Linked DNA regions of Homo sapiens: regions 2, 3 and 4 are each linked to region 1. The links are contacts of gene promoters, found by promoter capture Hi-C in human tissues and cell types (Jung and others, 2019). All regions are on one chromosome and are shown on one strand. Each heading gives the region's core, a stretch centred on a gene start or on the middle of the fragment in contact. The rest is flanking DNA. Distances are from core to core; before and after follow the strand shown.

Region 1 (3,393 bases), core at 666-3,165:
ACCCGGGGCACCCTCCACAGCTGCTGGTCTGGGTGCTAAGCCCCTCACTGGCCAGGGCCGGCGGTGCCAGCCGGCGCTCAGAGTGCAGGGCCCGCCGAGCCCACACCCACCCGGAACTCCCGCTGGCCCGTGATCGCGGGGCACAGCAGCCCCGGTTCCCGCCCACGCCTCTCTCTCCACACCTCCCTGCAAGCAGAGGGAGCTGGCTCCGGCCTCAGCCAGCCCAGAGAGGGGCTCCCACAGTGCAGCAGCGGGCTGAAGGGCTCCTCAAACGCGGCCAGAGTGGATGCCCTGGCCTGAGGAGGTGCTGAGAGCGAGCGAGGGCTGCTAGCACGTTGTCACCTCTCACCAGCACTTTGGGAGGCCGAGGCGAGTGGATCAGGAGTTCCAGACCAGCCTGGTCAACATGGTGAAACCCTGTCTCTACTGAAAATACAAGATTAGCTGGGTGTGGTTGTGCATGCCTGTAATCCCAGGTACTCGGGAGGCTGAGGCAGGAGAATCACGTGAACCCGGGAGGTGGAGGTTGCAGTGACCCGAGATCTCGCCATTGCACTCCAGCCTGGGCAACAAGAGCAAAACTCTGTCTCAAAAAACAAAACAAAACAAAACAGAACAAACTTAAACTGAAATACGCATGCATTTATTGGTAGGTAGTGCAGAAGGCTGGTGCAGGGGTTATGAAGAATGCTATGAAGTTTCAAGTATGGCAACCAGCATATGCATTCACGTTTGCTATGTGTGCTCAGGTGTGAGAGCCAGAGCGTGAAAATTACTTCTGCTCACGGGGAGTCCAGTATATACACTATCTTGTCCTCTCGGGAACTCTATAAAGTAGAAATTGTTACGCTACAGATTATTAAAACAAGAAAAAAACAGGCTCAGTAAAGGTAATTGAATTATTTTGGGTGCTGCAGCCAACCACCAAGTTGCAATGACCAAATCGGAGCCAAATAAATTGCTCACTTCTGGTCCGTCTCATGTCCCCATCTAAATTACATCATTAATTTACAATCCTTTGGCATTTTTCATAATCTAGACAGCACTTTCCCTTCTTTCGTCTGTTTAAGTCTTGCCATTCTTCCTACCTCTCTGAGGAAGGAGTTCATAAGAGTAGGAATAGGCTATTAAATTCTAACCATTTCAGATAACCATAAGTATCCTGATTTATCATATTGCCATAAATAAGCCTAGGAGACCCTACTTCATAAATGGTTTCTTGTCTGTACATTAGGTAATCGGTGTGAATTTCCATAAGTCTCTAAATTCAAAGCATTAATGAACCACAAATAGGCTTTTAACAATTGAATCCCGGTTGCTATTCTTGACCTTTTCATTTATTTTCAGAGACCACTTCTCATTTAAGTGACACTTAGCAACTAAAAAGATTCACAGAGTGATTCAGAGTCGAGTATGATGTCCTCACTGTTGAATGCTCATAGAATATTTTTTCTCTTTCCATAGTCTTGAGGACCAACGCAAACGTCTAGAGGATGTGGGATTCTTACCTGCTAACATATCTTTGGCATTAACTCCCCAAATCTTTGAATGCAAGGCACGCTTACCTGACACCCTAAACTGCTAGTTTAGGGACACCCGCCGCAGAGCGGAATCGTTCAAGGTCACTGGGGCTGCAGGTGCGGGGCCTTAACCAGCGCTGCCGATCCGTCAGCTCTCGGCCCACCCTTGGGGATCCCCATCGCCCACTGCGACCTAGCTGGGAGAACCCAGTCCGCCCGCCCTCCCGGTGGCCGGTCTTGGAACCGCGCTTCTGGAAGGTTCCTGAGTGGCTGGCAGTGGGGGCGGCTCCAGGAAGCCGGGGCGGAGCGGGCGGCGTTGGAGTCTCGGGCTACGCCTCCCTGGGCCGCTCCGCCCCGCCCGTTGTCGGAAGCCGCGCTCCGCCAGGCAGGAGACACTGTGGTCGGGAGTAGGCAGCGGCGCCGCGTCCGCTCTCGCCCGCTCTCGCCCGCTCGCCAGCCGGCTCTCCTCCCGCCGCAGGACCCGCGCGCCGCGCTCGGGGGCCATGCAGCGCCTGGCCATGGACCTGCGGATGTTGTCCCGGGAGCTCTCCCTCTACCTGGAACACCAAGTCCGGGTGGGGTTCTTCGGCTCGGGGGTGGGCTTATCCCTTATCCTGGGCTTCAGCGTCGCTTATGCCTTCTACTACCTGAGCAGCATTGCCAAGGTGAGCCGGGGGTGGCGCAGGGCCGCGGGCTGCTGGGCCAGGAGCTAGGGTAGCAGGCGCGGCGCGAGGCTGCGCGGCCAGGGGCGGTCGGCAGCCCCGGGGATAGGCGGCGAGCTGCTCCCGAGCGGCAGCCCCCAGCGCGCGCGGGAAAGCCAACAGGCCCCGCCCGTTCGCCCGCCCCCTGGGGGTCCCGGCCGGGTGGTCCTCGGAGCGCAGCCTGAACCCGGCTGACTTCTGCGCTGCGGCGCTGCCCGGTCACCGATCGCGAAGCCGGCGGCGCACTCGGGAACGCCGTGGCGCTTTTGAAAATGACTCCGGGCAGGGCACGGTGGCTCACGCCTGTAATCTCAGCACTTTGGGAGCCCGAGGCGGGTGGATCACCTGAGGTCAAGAGTTCGAGACCAGCCTGACCAAAATGGTGAAACCCCGTTACAATTACAAAAAATTAGCCGGGCGTGGTGGCGGACGCCTGCAATCCCAGCTACTCGGGAGGCTGAGGCAGGAGAATCCCCTGAACCCGGGAGGCGGAGTTAAAAACAAACAAACTCCCTTATCGCGATTCTCGCCTTCCCCTCGGGGCATTGGCGAAACCCCCGTTTCAGTCCTCTGTGACTGTGAATTTTTTGCGTCAGCCCTCCAGAAAGAGTTGTAATCGGAGGAAGCGCGCGCGCGAGCGACAAGTCTTTGCCGGTTTCTGGTTTACGGTTGGCAGAAACTTTGCTCTGGGCCCTTCTCTGATACTGCTTTTCCCTTCAGAAACCCCAGTTAGTGACCGGGGGTGAGAGTTTCAGCCGCTTCCTTCAAGACCACTGTCCCGTGGTTACAGAAACGTACTACCCGACGGTCTGGTGCTGGGAGGGTCGAGGACAGACCCTGCTTAGACCTTTCATCACTTCGAAGCCCCCGGTGCAGTACAGGAAGTAAGTGAATTTCCGTTTTCAGTCATTTCTGCAAAATCACAGGTTGTTTGTTTGCTTGCTTGCTTATTCCCAGTTCTTGGTTAATAGAATCTGCTTTAGGAAGTATATAGAACAGAAAGAGGGAATGAAAATGGAAGGTACGTCCCCGGCTCCACCCCCAGCTGCAGGAAAATACCCCAGCTGCAGGTATTTGCCTCCTGGTCCCCGCCCTAACCGCCAACCTGATGTAAATGGTTTATTTTTAGGATGAGAGAAGTGTTTGGGGATTACTGTCTCGCAGTTTGTCAT
Region 2 (3,393 bases), core at 343-2,842, 220 kb after region 1:
GTTCAAGTGATTCTCCTGCCTCAACCTCCCAAGTACCTGGGATTACAGGTGCCCGCCACCACGCCTGGCTAATTTTTTTTTTTTTTTGTATTTTTAGTAGAGACAGGGTTTTACCACGTTGGCCAGGCTGGTCTCGAACTCCTGACCTCAGGTGATCCACCCACCTTGGCCTCCCAAAGTGGTGGGATTACAGGCATGAGCCACCGCGCCCAGCCCACTCTGCCTTTTCATAGAAAGAGAATGAGTTCAGGGGCAGAGAGAAGTTCAGCTGCTTGTCCCAGTTCATACAACTGATCAGAGACAAAGCTAGCTCTAGATTTTATCCAGCCTCTAGCAAGGTCTTCACACATTGCAAGGATTTAGCTGGCTGGGTAGAAATGAAGAAATCCTTCAGTTCAATAAATCCTGGGCTGGTCCCTTCAGGTATTCAGTAAGTCATAGCTACTATTAGGCTGGGGTGACTGGGTTGGAGGAAATAAGTATAGATAATCTATGTTTCAAGCTTAATGCTTTTTGCTGGGCCACGTAGAAAAGCCAAAGTTAGAATAAATGGTAACTTTGATATCTGGCATTTCTGTTTCATACTCTGGAAGAATCATGAAGTCAGAAGTGCACAGTTTCTCCAATCTGTCATGCTTGCATTAAACTATACTTACAACTTTTGTAGCACAAAACTACAATAGAAAGTTGATGAGATCATCATTTAAAATAAAAGTTAGGAAACTCTGAATGATGTTACCAGAAAAAGAAGATGCATTTCAAGCTGGTGGATGTAACAGGTGGGTAGGAATGCTTAAAGGGGGTACTCATGGAATGATTTTGGAAAATTAAGACTACATGTGCTGTGAAAGGATTAATGTCACAGTGTCAGTTAAGACTTTCCAAATCCAACAGCTGCAAAAATATCAAACCGTACTTGAGCCTGTGCTCTTTCCGGATGCAGTATTATAATCTACTGAATAGGATGCATCCATAGGTCCTCATTTTAATTTCCTTTTCTTTTTTCTTAGCAAAATTATGGACAGGTTTGTTAAATAGCTGTTAAATAATATGATCAATTAAAGCCATTCTAAGAACTATAGCTACTAAAAATTAGAATTTGCCCCATAAAATAAAGCCCAATCGCCCCAACATTGGATGATCAAACAGAATATTGTGGAGGGCAGAAAGGGACCTTTATTAGGTTAGGTAAATTCTAATGTCTCTACCTACCTCTGAATCTATGATTCAAGGTCACAGAGGGAAAAAAACTCTTTCAGAGTTTAATCTGAAAATGGGGATTTTTTTTTTCTTTTTTTAGAAAAGGGAAGAAAAGACAGCAGTTATGTTCCTTAATCCCTAAGGCCAGGGACTGGAGGAGGAGCCCCAAGAACTGAATTCACCTCAATTATCTGATTGCTCTTTAATTTCTTCCAGTGTATACTTCAAATCTCTCATAGTAAAGTTTAGTTTTTACTGAATCATCTTAGGGTCCTTGCCTGTGGTGGACAGGGGAGAAAAGAGGGAAAAATGTCAAAGTCTGAGGTGTAGGGTAGGAGAGGCCGGAGCTCAGAGAAGTGGGACTTTTTTTTTTTTTTTTTGAGACGGAGTCTCGCTCTGTCACCCAGGCTGGAGTGCAGTGGCGTGGTCTCGGCTCACTGCAAGCTCCACCTCCCGGGTTCACACCATTCTCCTGCCTCAGCCTCCCAAGTAGCTGGGACTACAGGCATCTGCCACCACGCCTGGCTAATTTTTCGTATTTTTAGTAGAGATGGGGTTTCACCGTGTTAGCCAGGGTGGTCTCGATCTCCTGATGTCATGGTCCGCCCGCCTCGGCCTCCCAAAGTGCTGGGATTACAGGCGTGGGCCACCGCGCCCAGCCAGAAGCGGGTCTTGAATAAGCAAATCCCTCTCTGCCCTATCCATCTCCTGATGATAGCAGTGAAGCATGACCGGGAGCTGACTCAGCATGAAAAGTAGTGCAATGGCCCACTTTGGTTGTATTTTCCTTTATTGATCTTGGATGATCACATAAAACAATAGTAGGGCATCTTAGGAAAGGCTGTTTTAATTTGGCCTTTGCACGTCATCTGCAAGGGCTCCATCAAACACCCCGTAGCACTGACACAAAAGGCTTTTGGCTATTTTAGATCTGCAAGTACAGCTAGAGAGAAGAGCAGAAGGCCTTATTTACTATTTACCTCTCCAAGAGTGTGTTCACCATTTTTTCAAAAGTCTCGTCACATCTCAGAAGTGGGCTCGTGATCCCCCACTGCAGAGACTTGCTGTACTCACTCAAGCCAAAGTACAGCTTCTCCTCGCAGCCCACGTCCTCCTGGTTCAAAATACAGAGCAAAAACCCAATGAGGACAGGATACAGTGTGTCTTGTTTTCCAGAAAGTGGGGTTTACAGAAATGACCGCTGTAAGAGGTTATTTCCTGACAAGTAAGAAAAAATACTGTTTCATTATGTAACCCGACACCAACTCTGCAGTCATCTCTGAGGCACTAAGTGAAACTTCTTTTAATTTCAAAGGAACTGAATATGTGATTAGTGGAAAGTTGACACACTTCCTTCAGGCACATGGTTTGTTTTCTTTTTTTTTTGTTGGGATACACAAGGTCAGACAGCCTCAATTCTCAGCCTTTTTCCCTGCTGGAAGTAGTTCTCTATACAGATAAATAGGCTTTCCTCAGAACGCTCTAGAGATTGACAAACTCCTCTGTTACAGAAACCTTAACTTTTCTGACATCATTTCATAATGATAACTCATAAAAGCTTATCTTTGCAAACAAATTTTACTTTAAAAATGGAATATATGCTTTCCTTTAACAGGATCCACAGTATTTAACGTAGCCCCCTCTTGATGAGTCAGTCATCACTATGAAAATGAATAGCTATTTTAGGATGTGACATAAGGATGCCCTCAGAGGATCTTGAGAAGTGTGACAAGTTGCTTATCCTTAAACTCAGAAGCTCTACGATATTAAATAAGCTTTTTGAGTTCATGAATCTGTTTTTGTTTGTAGCTTTCTTTTGCATCTTTTCTACATTAGTTTTTTACAGTCACTGCTTGCTGTCATGTTGCCTGTGCCATTTGGTCTCACTTTTGTTATTTTATTTTATTTTTGAGACCAAGTTTTGCTCTTGTTGCCCAGGCTGGAGTGCAATGGTGCGATCTTGGCTCACTGCAACCTCTGCCTCCCGGTTTCAAGCGATTCTCCTGCCTCAGCCTCCCGAGTGGCTGGGATTACAGGCACCCACCACCACGCCCAGCTAATTTCTTTTTTTGCATTTTTAGGAGAGACGGGGTTTCGCCACGTTGGCCAGGCTGGTCTCAAATTCCTGGACTCAGGTGATCCGCCCGCCTTGGCCTCCCAAAGTGCTGGGATTACAGGCGTAAGCTACTGCGC
Region 3 (3,393 bases), core at 445-2,944, 160 kb after region 1:
TTTTTTTTTGAGATGGAGTTTCACTCTTGTTGCCCAAGCTGCAGTGCAATGGCATGATCTTGGCTCACTGCAACCTCCACCTCCTGGGTTCAAGTGATTCTCCTGCCTCAGCCTCCCAAGTAGCTGGGATTACAGGTGCATGCCACCACGCTTGTCTAGTTTTTGTTTTTTTTTTGTTTTTTTTTTGTATTTTTAGTAGAAACGAGGTTTCACCAGGTTAGCCAGGCTGGTCTCGAACTTCTGACCTCAGGTAATCCGCCTGCCTTGGCCCCCAAAAGTGCTGGGATTACAGGTGTGAGCCACCATGCCCCACCTCTAAATATGTATTGCTTAAAGATGAAGATTACTCCTTTTTTGTTTGTTTTGAGTTGGAGTCTCGCTCTGTCGCCCAGGCTGGAGTGCAGTGGCGCGATCTCGGCTCACTGCAACCTCTGTCCCCTGGGTTCAAGCAATTCTCCTGCCTCAGCCTCCCAAGTAGCTGGGACTACAGGCGTGCACCACCACACCCAGCTAATTTTTTTGTATTTTTAGTAGAGACAGGGTTTCACCGTGTTAGCCAGGATGGTCTCGATCTCCTGACCTTGTGATCCGCCTTCCTCAGCCTCTCAAAGTGCTGGGATTGCAGGTGTGAGCCACTGCGCTTGGCCAAAGATTATTCCTTTTTTAAACATAAAAGTACCTTAAAGAATATAACTACACCTTCAATAAATGAATTAATTGTTGAAATCAAGTTTTCTATCAGAGTTCAAAGCTTCCCAAATAGCTCATGATTTCCTATGTTGCTTATTTGTTTGAATTAGGGTTTATATATTACATTGGTTGTTATGTCCCTTTAGTATCTTTTAATCCCAAAGTTCTCCCTGGTTCTGTTTTTTTCCCTTGTAATATTTGTTTATTTTTTGAAAAGCTGGTTGTTGGTTTTATTTCTTCAAATATTCCTTCAAATGTATATTCTCATTCAACCTTTTCATGAAATTGTGATTAATGTGAACTTTTAAAGTCGGGGTATTATTTATACAATTAAATCTACACATCTTAAGTGTTTGGTTTGAATTTTGATCATTGTATATACTCAGTGTATTTACCACTCAGTGTATTTTGTTTCCAATTGTAATCCTTTTTTTGATGGAAAAAGGAGAAATCCATTCTTTAGACTGTACAGTTTAGAGTAACTCCAATAGCAAGGAGAAAAGAGTAATAATTTCTTAATCCCAACACTTTGGAAGGCCAAGGCTGGCGGATCACCTGAGGTCGGGAGTTCGAAACCAGCCTGACCAACATGGAGAAACCCTGTTTCTACTAAAAATACAAAAAAAATCAGCTCGGCGTGGTGGCACATGCCTGTGATCCCAACTACTCGGGAGGCTGAGGCAGGAGAATTGCTTGAACCCGGGAGGCGGAGGTTGCAGTGAGCCGAGATTGCGCCATTGCACTCCAGCCTGGGCAACAAGATTGAAACTGTCTCAAAAAAAAAAATAAATAAAATAATAATAATTTCTTGCTGTTAGAAATACAAATTAGGAATATAAAGTTTTCTGCTTTTCATGAAGCAGAAATGGATGAAGTAAGAAAAAATGGGTTTTGGAAAATACTACTTGTTAGCAGAGGGTTATGTGTAACATACTAGTCCTGAAATATGTTGGAGCTAAAGGTCAGAAGTGTAAGTGCACTGCATTGGAATTTATTTCTTTGCAAAAACGTTGTGGCTATTTGATTATTCTTCTAAATTGCATGCACTCTTTCCTGAACCCTGCTTCTCCTCTGCCTTAATTTTAAGCATTGGATGGACTTTATCGCCTCTAAGTTTCTCTGAAGTAAGGAGGGTCATGTGGTTATTGTGACTAGCAGTTAACTGTAGTTGAGGCATAGATATGTCTTGAGTATGTTATTTGAACAAATATTAGCTAACTTGTTTCTTTCATCTTTTATTTGCCTATGATTTGAATTTATTGCTGTATTTACCCTTGGGAACATTTATTGATTGACTGTTTTGTTAGATTAGTGCATTGATCTTAGTTTGATACTAGTAAGAAGGGAGAATGGAAGTTGCTAAGAGTTACTTAGTGGCTACTCTTTGAGCAGTCATCTTAAATACAGCACCCTCGTACCTACCCAAGTGATGGAGGTGATGATAGCCATTTTTTAGAATGCTAAGATCAGGAAACAGAATCAGAGTTCCAGTGATTTGCCTAAGGCCATGCATCTAGTAACTACCAAGAACAAGGATCTAAACCCTGAACTTTTACTCTAGAGTTACTTAAAAGTTTTCACTGAAATATGCTTTCTTAGCTTGGCATGGTGGTGCACGCCTGTAGTCCCAGCTACTTGGGAGGCTGAAGCAAGAGGATTGCTTGAGCCCCAGGAGTTTGAAGCTGCTGTGAGCTGTGATCTTGCCACTGCACTCCAGCCTGGGTGACAGAGTGAGACTCTGTCTCAAATAAGTAAATTACATTAATAAATAAAACTTGCTGTTTTCATGAACATTAGAAATCTAAGCAATACTAAGTATCCTTTTGCAGCCTTTGCTTCTTAAAGGGCTTTTATTTAGTACATGAAAAAAAGGTACTATTTAAAACATAAAATTATATCAAATGGAATTGTGATAAAAATTTCGGCATGAACATACAAGTCTGAAGTTGTTTCAAGAGAAAGTTTTGCACTCAAAAATTAGTAAAGCAAAATAATTTGTCTAATGTCTATAATGCAATATAATGACATGAAACCAGTATTACTGTTTTCAAAGGCATTTAATAGGAAAATAGTTTATGGAACTGTCTTTAGATGATTCAGTTCAGGAAGAATGGTTTTCTTATAACTTGAGGTTACTTACATTTTTAGGTCTTTTCGATGTTTTAAAGTGAAAATCTCTTTTCATTTTATTAAAAATAGGTTCATAAATTTAAAAGCTTTTTCATAAAGTAACATTAGTAATAGAAATTTGTTTTTAAAGAGGTGATGTCTTGTAAATCTTCTAAAAATTGTTTACCTATATTCAGATCTCTATATGATTCAGATTTACTTTCTTTCTTTTTTTTTTTTTTTTTTTGGGACAGTGTCTCGCTCTGTCACCCAGGCTGGAGTGCAATGGCGCGAACTCAGCTCACTGCAACCTCCACCTCCCGAGTTCAAGCAATTCTCCTGCCTCAGCCTCCTGAGTAGCCAGAACTACAGGCGCGTGCCACCACACCCGCCTAAAAATACAATAATTTTTTGTATTTTAGTAGATTCGGGGTTTCCAGGATGGTCTCAATCTCCTGACCTTGTGATCTGCCCTCCTCCCAAAGTGCTGGGATTACAGGCGTGAGCCACTGCACCCGGCCTTAAGTTTCTTTTTTAAAACCTTATTTACGTTGAAGAACTACAGATTTAGTTTCTTAGATGAAAAAAGGACTT
Region 4 (3,393 bases), core at 341-2,840, 140 kb before region 1:
GCTAAAGCGAATTATAAATGCTAAGTAGAATGATCCACATTAATTTATTAAGCAGGGTTAACACCTATTTAATACAAATGAAATGCCAACACAGTGTCTGGCACACAATAAGTGCTATTAGTTCACCCTTCTCAGCTTTATGAATTGATCAAGCAGCTACATACATACAAGCACTCCAGTATTCCTATCAAAAATAACTTCCTTGTGCTTTTTCCTGTGCCAAAAATTCTACGAAAGATACATTAATTTGGATCATAAAAACCATCCAGGCTTAGAAGGTTGAAAGTAGAAGAAGCAGGGGCAAGGCAACACCTTTTAAGTCCCTGCCAGCTAATTCATTATGATAATTACTAACAGCTCCTTTCTTATTAATGATGGTTAATGAATAGCTTAAGAAAAAATAAATAGCAAGACAGAAATAAAGATTATAAAAAGAAGGGAATGGAAAAAGAGTATAAACTCCATGAGTTTTTACTTCAAAACCAACATGCTCTTTGGTTTAAACTATTCACCTTGAGAGAAACATTTGTAAGAAACTCAAATTTCACTTTATATGCAATACACACACACATTTGAGTATTGAAAAACTAAAAAATAAATTATTTCAGTAAACCAAAATTAGTAATCTGGTACAGTTATAATAAAGCACTAAGTTACTCAGAAAAGAACTATACTTCTCAAAAAGCAAAAGGAGTCAGGAGAGAGAAAAAGTTCAGAGTAGATATAGATTTTGGCCATCACTAATTACAGGGAGACAAGACTTTATTTGCCTCCAGATGGGACATAATGTAAAGTGTGTGGCACCAACTGTGAAGCTTTCTTGCCAAAAATGTTAAGCTGACCCTGATCAAACTATTACATCTAACTTCCAGCTTACAGGAAACACAGAAGATAGCAAGTTAAACAACACCACGATAGAACAATCAAATCTAGAATGTGTGACATTCTACCAAAAAAATGAATTATTTTACAAACATGAATGCAAAACAGTTTTTGTACTCCAAAAAAAGTGCAACATATAAGTAACTATAATCCAAAGTGGAAGTAAATGTATCCTTAGGTTATAGGGAGCTTTGAAAGCAAAATGGTAGATAATTTTAACTTTACCATACTTTAGATATAATGAAGGAAACACATTAAGAGCTAAAAAAATTTGACAGTAAAAATGGTGTATCAATAAACTCAAACAATAATTAACTTAGCAAATCAGTACATTAATAAGCAAGACTGTAAACAAGCAATAAAATAAGAAATTCTGATCTGATAAATGCAGAAATTATATATTCCTATATTTAAATCATTGTTTGGAAGAGCAAAATTACACAGACGCATGATGTCATTAAATCTTATTTATCATTAATTCTAGTCTCAACTTCATAAAATGACAAAATACTATATTAAATATATCTTACCTTTGTCCTGGATTGAACCTGTTCTTTACAGATGAGGCATTTCTTGACACGTGGAGAACATAAAGAACAGGTAGCAATATGTCCACATGGACCAAAAAGAGTATCTCTCTTCATATCTGAGCACACCATACACTCTTCTAAGGTTTCAGAATCATTACTAATCATAGAAGGACTCCGAGAACCCACTTGACCACTAATAAAAGAAAGTATTTCAAATCAAGCCTATCTTATTACAAATTCACTAATTAAAATGTTTTAAAATATACCTGGAGCATCATTAGTATACATAAAAACTAGTCATATTAAAAAATTAAGCTTTAACATCTGTATGTGAAACATTAAATTTTTGTGTTTATATGCGTCTCTGCATCTTTAGATACTTCTAACACAATTCAAACTTCAAACTGAACACTCACTCACCCAATGGAAAAGGGTGAATCTTCTAACAATGAAATAAAAAACAGCAATTAAAAAAAAAACTTAGCATAAACAAAATTTTGCTCAGAACCTGTTGTATCTATATAGAACCAGCAGAGGAAGGCATAGGAATAAAACAAAAATCCTCACTAGCCCCCATGTTAGTTGCCTTACTAAAGACGGAACAAAGCATCATCAGAGTCCACAACAGATAGGGCACTTTGGAAAATTTAACACTTCAGCTGCTGTTTTGACATTTTTAAGTGTATCCTTAAGGAACATAAAATTATATTACAGAAAGATAGACTGCATCCGTAAACACAGATACAAGGAACAGAAATACATATGACCACCTACAGCTACAGAAAAGGGATGCCCTGTTTCTACCACAATCTTCAGAAACTCACGAACACGTACACAACACGTACACAGAGGGTCCACCTTAGACTCCATTGTTTAAAAGTTATTACTGCAATAATTATAGTGCCTTATATCTTTATATTTATAGATTTTTTTTTTTGGAGACAGAATTTTGCTCTTGTTGCCCAGGCTGGAGTACAGTGGTGTGATCTCGGCTCACTGCTGCAACCTCCGCCTCCCGGTTCAAGCAATTCTCCTGCCTCAGCCTCCCAAGTAGCTGGGATTATAGGCATGCGCCCAGCTAGTTTTTGTATTTTTAGTAGAGACAGGGTCTCACCATGTTAGTCAGGCTGGTCTTGAACTCCTGACCTCAATCCACCTGCCTCGGCCTCCCAAAGTGCTCAGATTACAGGTGTGAGCCACCACGCCCGGCCGATGCATTCTCTTTTTGTAATAGAATTTCATGTTCCTTAACAATACACTTAAAGAAATGTATATACCTCACTATATTAATTTCCTCTATAACACAGTTCTATGCACAGATTCCAAAGAGATGACATTTCATCACTACACATAAATTATGAGAGAGGCAAGGAACACTAAGGTTAAGGAACAGCTACTGAAATTTCAGTGACAAGAACCAGGTACAAAGGGCAACAACAGTTGCACAGCACTGTTCAGATTTAAAAAAGCAATGAGATGTGTACCTTTTTGTACATCTATAAAATCTCATAAGGAAATTAGTTATGTCATAAATAATAATTAAAATCACTGACATATCTTTCAGAAAAAGAGACAAATGTGAAATGATCATCTTTAGAGAAAACTCCACCAGGACTTGGTGCATTCATTTGTTCATTCTCCACTGATACTGAGTGCACCTGTCAGGCACTGAGCAGGGTGCTACAGTTTGTGTGAGATATACCCTGTTCATGGAGTATAAGTTGCCTGTCTTAGGAAGATTCTATTTAAATTTTAAATATAGAGCCAGGCACAGTGGCACATGCATACAGTCCCAGCTACTGAGGATGAAGCAAGAGGATTGCTTGAGCCCAGGAGTTTAAGCCCAACCTGGGCAACACAGCAAGACGTATTTTTAAAAAATAATAATAATACAATAAAAAATAAATACAATTTAAAATACATGTAACATTAACAACAGCAATTTTACTAGAAGACTTTTTCTCATAAATCCCTCTAACAC

The links. Contacts are between HindIII fragments. The study calls those that stand out against the background at their distance.
Region 2: a contact is called between a fragment that was not itself captured here and the fragment with the promoter of ABHD3 in region 1, in 2 of the 25 tissues and cell types used here (heart right ventricle and pancreas).
Region 3: a contact is called between a fragment that was not itself captured here and the fragment with the promoter of ABHD3 in region 1, in 2 of the 25 tissues and cell types used here (aorta and lymphoblastoid cells).
Region 4: a fragment that was not itself captured here is called in contact with the fragment with the promoter of ABHD3 in region 1 in 1 of the 25 tissues and cell types used here (heart right ventricle).

Annotation. Positions count from the first base shown.
Region 1 is chr18:21,703,296-21,706,688 of GRCh38, reverse strand. It overlaps ABHD3 (abhydrolase domain containing 3, phospholipase), which reads left to right and starts at 1,915. Exons shown (of 9, transcript NM_138340.5): 1 at 1,915-2,185; 2 at 2,942-3,105. The coding sequence starts at 2,024. It also overlaps a transcript of MIB1 not described here. RefSeq lists enhancers at 1,508-1,577, 3,038-3,187 and a silencer at 1,748-2,517. The HindIII fragment of the contact is 17,143 bases long and covers 1-3,393 here.
Region 2 is chr18:21,484,541-21,487,933 of GRCh38, reverse strand. GREB1L (GREB1 like retinoic acid receptor coactivator) reads right to left here. Exons shown (of 33, transcript NM_001142966.3): 18 at 2,181-2,314. Among named protein-coding and RNA genes, the nearest start is that of GREB1L-AS1, 35 kb to the right of the region's middle. The HindIII fragment of the contact is 4,406 bases long and covers 1-3,393 here.
Region 3 is chr18:21,541,246-21,544,638 of GRCh38, reverse strand. All of the region lies in intron 8 of ESCO1 (establishment of sister chromatid cohesion N-acetyltransferase 1), which reads left to right. Among named protein-coding and RNA genes, the nearest start is that of ESCO1, 58 kb to the left of the region's middle. The HindIII fragment of the contact is 5,589 bases long and covers 1-3,393 here.
Region 4 is chr18:21,847,408-21,850,800 of GRCh38, reverse strand. MIB1 (MIB E3 ubiquitin protein ligase 1) reads right to left here. Exons shown (of 21, transcript NM_020774.4): 17 at 1,413-1,605. Among named protein-coding and RNA genes, the nearest start is that of MIR133A1HG, 18 kb to the right of the region's middle. The HindIII fragment of the contact is 5,232 bases long and covers 1-3,393 here.